2 separate regions of the Homo sapiens genome follow, and region 2 is linked to region 1. Evidence: promoter capture Hi-C in 16 types of primary human blood cells and fetal thymus (Javierre and others, 2016). All regions are on one chromosome and are shown on one strand. Each heading gives the region's core, a stretch centred on a gene start or on the middle of the fragment in contact. The rest is flanking DNA. Distances are from core to core; before and after follow the strand shown.

What was found. Contacts are between HindIII fragments. The CHiCAGO score rates a contact against its expected background, and 5 or more counts as called.
Region 2: a fragment that was not itself captured here is called in contact with the fragment with the promoter of P2RX2 in region 1 in 2 of 17 cell types (M0 macrophages and total B cells); the score reaches 7.7 in M0 macrophages.

The regions. Positions count from the first base shown.
Region 1 is chr12:132,617,174-132,620,336 of GRCh38, forward strand. It overlaps P2RX2 (purinergic receptor P2X 2), which reads left to right and starts at 1,603. Exons shown (of 11, transcript NM_170682.4): 1 at 1,603-1,816; 2 at 2,266-2,401; 3 at 2,506-2,577; 4 at 2,671-2,746; 5 at 2,827-2,923; 6 at 3,094-3,163. The coding sequence starts at 1,644. The HindIII fragment of the contact is 12,004 bases long and covers 398-3,163 here.
Region 2 is chr12:132,127,024-132,130,186 of GRCh38, forward strand. It overlaps the pseudogene LOC107987169. Among named protein-coding and RNA genes, the nearest start is that of DDX51, 16 kb to the right of the region's middle. RefSeq lists an enhancer at 123-623. The HindIII fragment of the contact is 1,282 bases long and covers 840-2,121 here.

The DNA of each region.
Region 1 (3,163 bases), core at 353-2,852:
TTTTGTGTTTTTAGTGGAGACGAGGTTTCGCCATGTTGGCCAGGCTGGTCTCGAACCCCTGATCTCAAGTGATCCACCCATGTTGGCCTCCCAAAGTGCTGGGATTACAGGTATGAGCCACTGTGCCCAGCCAACAGAGTTTAATTGAGCAAAACACAACTCATGAATTGGGCAGCACTCAGAACCAATGGGGGAGGTTCGAGAGCTCCACTCTGTAATGTGGGCAGGAAGTTTTTATAGATAGAACACAGAAGTGAGATACAAAAAAAAAAAAATCACAATTAGCTTGATTTTGTTACTGCTTGAAATGTTTGCCTTATATGGCATGATCAGATCAGTTAGCAGCCTGTGACTGGCTGAGACCCAGCTATTTGTTCCAAAATATACTCATAGGTTAAGCTTTTAGCTTGTTTCTGTGGTACATTAGGTTGCAGTTTGTTGTTACCTAGAAACTCAAGGCACAGAGGCAGCCTGTTAATTGAGTTAATTTAACAGTTCAAACAAATACTTATGCACCAGTGTTTATAACAGCACTATTCACAGAGTTAGTTTGAAAGCAATCTAAATTCCTTCTTTGGATAGCCTAGACATTTCTCCTGGCCATAAGAAGGGGTGATGCCCTGACACATGCTACAATGTGGATGAACCTTGAAAACATGCTCAGTGAATGAAGCCAGACAGAAAAGGCATTAACCCAGAAACAAATATTGCATTTCCTTGATATGAAATATCCAGAACAGGCAAGTCCATTCACTGAGACAGAAAAGCGACCAGTGGTTGCCAGGGCATGGGAGGAGTGTGGAACGGGTCGTGACTGCTTAATGGATGGGAGTTTTATTTTGGGGTGGGGAAAGTGTTTGGGGACGAAACAGAGGCGGTGGTGGTTGCACAATGTTGTGAATGTCACTGAATTGTTTACTTTAAAATAGTTAATTACATGCTATGCTGATTTTATCATAATAAACTATTTTAAAATTATTTTGTGAAAAACTGTGATGCTTGGGATTTGCTTCAAAATAATGTGGGTGGGGTGGAGGTTCGAAAAGTTACCAAAAAAAAAAAAAAAGAAAGAAAGAAAGAAAGAAAACTCTGGCTTGCAAAGAAGAAAACGGATCGGCCGTGGATCCCTCTCCAGCTCGAGGGCTGGAGCTGCGGCGGAGGCAGGAGCTGGAAGCGAGGCGTCTGCTGGCAAAGGCGGGAGTGCAGGTTGCGCTCGAAGCCCCGGCAGCCGCGGCAGGAACCGGCCTGGACGGGGTGGGGGGCGCCGCGGAGGCCGGCGGGACTTCCCATGTCTTTCTCCTCGAGCTCGGAAAAAGTTCCCACCCGGGGAATCCCGACCCTCCAACTTCGAGACCGCCGGTTCCGCGCTCGGCCCCCACCTGGACCAAGAGCTGGGGCTGGGCTGCCGCGCCCCCGGCTCTGTCCCCGCGAGGCCCCGCTCCCAGCCCCACCTGGGACACCCGGGACTCCCGGGACACCTGCGGGGCGGGGCGGGGCCGGGGCGAGGCGGGGCGGGCTCGAGGCCGCACCCCGGAGGCGGAGCCGCGAGCTACCCGCCCGCCGCGCGCCCCCCGCTCTCGGTGCGCAGCGGGGCCGACCCTCAGCCCTGCAGCGCCTTCCTGGAGGTGGGGGCCGCCCGCGCCATGGCCGCCGCCCAGCCCAAGTACCCCGCCGGGGCGACCGCCCGGCGCCTGGCCCGGGGCTGCTGGTCCGCCCTCTGGGACTACGAGACGCCCAAGGTGATCGTGGTGAGGAACCGGCGCCTGGGGGTCCTGTACCGCGCCGTGCAGCTGCTCATCCTGCTCTACTTCGTGTGGTGCGCGGGGCGCGGGGTGCGGGGCGCGGGGTGCGGGGCGCAGGGGAGGGGCTGGGATTGGGGGCGCTGGGCTGGAGGCGCGGGGCTGGGGCTGGGGCTGGGACCGGGGGCGCGGGGCAGGGGCTGGGGCTGGGACCGGGGGCGCGGGGCAGGGGCTGGGATTGGGGGCGCGGGGCAGGGGCTGGGACTGGGGGCGTGGGGCAGGGGCTGGGACTCGGGGTGCTGGGCTGGAGGCGCGGGGCTGGGGCTGGGACCAGGGGCGCGGGGCAGGGGCTGGGGCTGGGACCGGGGGCGCGGGGCAGGGGCTGGGGCTGGGACCGAGGGCGCGGGGCAGGCCCCAAGAGCCCCGCAGAGCGGACCCGGGTCGCGGGAGGGCCCCTGCCGTGCCTGCGGGCGGGACTCAGCCTTCCCAGGGTCGCCTCCGGAGCCGGCGCCGCCCCTGCCCGCAGGTACGTATTCATCGTGCAGAAAAGCTACCAGGAGAGCGAGACGGGCCCCGAGAGCTCCATCATCACCAAGGTCAAGGGGATCACCACGTCCGAGCACAAAGTGTGGGACGTGGAGGAGTACGTGAAGCCCCCCGAGGTGCGGGCCGCCCCCTGCCCCCCGCCCCGCCGTGCACCCTACCCTAGTGGGCGGAGGGGGCAGCGGCTGCCGCCTGGCCGACCGCCCCCTCTTTCTGAGCCCAGGGGGGCAGCGTGTTCAGCATCATCACCAGGGTCGAGGCCACCCACTCCCAGACCCAGGGAACCTGCCCCGAGGTGAGGGGATCCCGCGGCGCTGGGGGACCCCGCCTCAGCTAGGCGGGCCAGCTGTCCCTTGCGGGGTCCCTGACTGGGCCGCCTCCACCCTAGAGCATAAGGGTCCACAACGCCACCTGCCTCTCCGACGCCGACTGCGTGGCTGGGGAGCTGGACATGCTGGGAAACGGTCGGTGTGCGCCAGCTGGGGCTGGGCGGGTGGGGCAGGGCTGCGTCCCCGCTAATGCCTCAGTGACCTCTGCCTCCCAGGCCTGAGGACTGGGCGCTGTGTGCCCTATTACCAGGGGCCCTCCAAGACCTGCGAGGTGTTCGGCTGGTGCCCGGTGGAAGATGGGGCCTCTGTCAGGTGCACCTGCGCCCCGGCCTGGGGCCCAGCCTCCCCTCTGATCCTTTTCCCCTGACCAGAGGCCAAACGGGCGGGGCAGGAGTGACAAGATCTGGGGAGGGGTGGGGGCCAATGCCAGGCGGGGGCTTTGCGGGAAGAGGGGACTAAACAACCCTTCTGTGCCTCCTCAGCCAATTTCTGGGTACGATGGCCCCAAATTTCACCATCCTCATCAAGAACAGCATCCACTACCCCAAATTC
Region 2 (3,163 bases), core at 231-2,730, 490 kb before region 1:
CTTGTCCATGCGCACTTCGTGTGTCCTGCGTGCTGTCTCTCTGCTGTCACCACAGGGGGCCAGATTGGCTGTGCAGCCTCTGCACATGCAGCAGCTCCGAAAGCTGAAACACCACCAGCAGTAAAAAGCTGTGCAGCCCTCAGCCGCTCCAGGCCTGCTGCTGCACAGCGGAAGGTAAGTGGCCGCTGGGCTTTGTGGGAGCTGCATCTCACACTCATCATTCAGGGCCCTTAGGCCAGAGTGGGGCTGGACTGAGCCCCTTCCTTTTGGAGGCAGCCGTTAAACAGAGCTGAGGAGGCTCCCTGCATGGGCTTCTGGAGGTGGGGAGGGGCCGAGTGTCAAGGAACTCTGACCCTGTAATTTTTACATATATTTGCTCTCTAGGGGAGAGCTTGCTTTGCTGTATAGTATAATTTTTCAAAAATATTTACAATGATTTCTGTGAAAAATCACTCTGACAAGGACTTCTATTTCTGGTAATATGGTAGATGAGAGAACCTGAAAATCTATCTCAACAAAACATCTAAAAATGCCAGATTTTCAAAAAGTGCCAGATAAAATATATAAAACCGTGAATGAGTCTGCAGGATAGTGAGTCTAGAAACCAGGCGAGGGCTGAAGTCTAAGGAGGTAGTTCTGTGCTAAAGACACTCTATGGCCTGGGTCCCCATGGACCCAGATGACCTAGAACTTTGAGGTAAGTTTGGGGAGCAGTCTGGAGAAGCCTTGGGCCCAGGGAGGGGCAGAACCAAATTGGAGACCCCCATATAAGGCTGGGCTCACAGAGGGATACAGCAAACACTACCAGGAAATGATGAAGTGGGCAAACTACTACTCTAAGCTTCACTGCAGAAACAGTATCTCACTTGGCCATGGCTGTGGATGGAACATCTTTAAAAAGTCTCTCCTATAAATTTATGGCCCCTGGCTAGCACTCTCCATCACAGGTATAGGGCCAAAGTTCATATTATTTACATGTTCAAAAGAACTGCAAACTGTGACTTTTAATTGCAAGCATATCTGGAGCTATAGTGCCCCCAGGCCTCTGGTAGAAAGAAATGTATGTCCTTGCAGGAGGAACCCCCAACCCAGGCCTCAAGGAATTCCAGCCAGCAGGATCCCTAGACTATAAGCTCATAGTGGAAAATCACAGCACACACAAGAGAAGGGGCCTCAGAAGTTATGGCCAAAAGAAGCACACCTGCAAAGACTCAGATGTTAGAATAGGAAATGCAAATATGTTTAATGTGTTTGAAGAAACAAAGGAGAAGCTAAAAAGCATAAATAAGCAAGAGAGTATCAGAGGCTAAGCAGATAATAAATGAACCAAATAGAACCTCTAAAAATGAAAAATGTAATAATTGAAATTCAAAACTTAATGGAAGTAATCTTGATCCCTACCTCACACCCCATAGAAAATTAACTCAATGAATCATAGACCCAAACATGAAATTCAAAACTATGAAACATAGGAAAAAAGTTTTGTGACTATAGGTTAAGTAAACATTTCTTAGATATGACACCAAAAATAGAGCCTATAAAAGGAAAAAAATTGGCAAGTCATACTTTAATAAAATTAAACCTTCTTGCTATGTGAAAACCATTGTTTAGAGAATGAAAAGACAAGTTACCAGGAGAAAACCTTTGCCAGTCATGTAGCTGATTAAGGACGTGTAACCAGAACATACAAAAAACTGTCAAAGCTCACTAATACAAAAACAACTTATTTTGTACAGTGGGCAACAGATTTGAGCAGACACTCCACCAAAGAAGCTCTCTAGGTGGCAAATAAGCACTGTCCTCTGGGAAATGCAAATAAAAATCACAATGAGAAACTACTGCACACCCGTGAGAATGCCTTAAAAAAAAAAAAGACAAGACCAAAACCAAGTGTTAGTGAGGGTGTGGAACAACAGAAATTCTCATACCTTGTTGGTGGGACTACAAGATAGTGGAGCCCTCTGGAATCAGTTTGGCAGTTTCTTATAAAATAAAACAATCATTTACTGTATGACCCAGCAATCCTGCCCCTCATTCTTTATACCAGAGAAATGAAGACATATGTCCACACAATAACCAAATACTGTAACCACAATGAAAAATGATGCAAGTGTTCACAGAAGCTTTATTCATTTACCTAAAACTGAAAGCAACCCAGACACTCTTCAACTGGCCAATGGGTAAACAAACGGCAGCCCACCGGTTCCATAAAACAGCACTCAGCAGGAGACAGGACTGGGCCACTGATGCTGGGGGCAGCGGGGATAAGCCTGAAATGTCTTATGCAGAGTGAAAGAGGCCACACTTAGAAGGCTGCAGTTTTTGTTTTTATATGACATTCTGGAAAAGACAACACTATAGCAACAGAGAAGAGCTCTGCAGTCACGAGGGGCTGGGGCAGTGGAAGGACTGACTTTCAGAGGGACAAGAGGGAATTCTGGGGGGCTGTGGAAAGATTCTGTATCTTGATGCTGATGGTTGTTACATGGCTGTGTGCATTGATCAAAACTGAAGTATGCATCAGAAACAGCGACTTGGACTGTATGTAAATTATACTGCAGTTTTTTTGTTTGTTTGTTTGTTTGTTTGTTTGTTTTTGAGACGGAGTCTGGCTGTGTTGCCCAGGCTGGAGTGAAGTGATATTGGCTCACTGCAAGCTCCGCCTCCCAGGTTCACATCATTTTCTTGCCTCAGCCTCCCAAGTAGCTGGGACCACAGGTGTCCACCACCATGCCTGGCTAATTTTTTTGTATTTTTAATAGAGACAAGGTTTCACCATGTTAGCCAGGGTGGTCTCGATCTCCTGACCTTGTGATCTGCCCGCCTCGGCCTCCCAAAGTGCTGGGATTACAGGCGTGAGCCACCGTGCCCAGCCTATACTGCAGTTTTAAAAAAGTTAATGGAAGGGTTAAACAATACATTAGAGAATTTGCGAGCTACAGAGAGATCTGGAGAAATAATCATGATAGCATGAGACTAGCAAACAAGACAAAGAAGACAGGCTGGCTGCAGTGCTCAGGCCTGTAACCCCAGCACTTTGGGAGGCCAGTGTGGGTGGATTGTTTGAGCCAAGCAGTTCAAGACCAGTCTGAGCAACAGAGTGAGGCCCCGTCTCTGCAAAAAAAATAAGAAAAGAAGAGGGAGGGGTGAGAAGATCTCACAT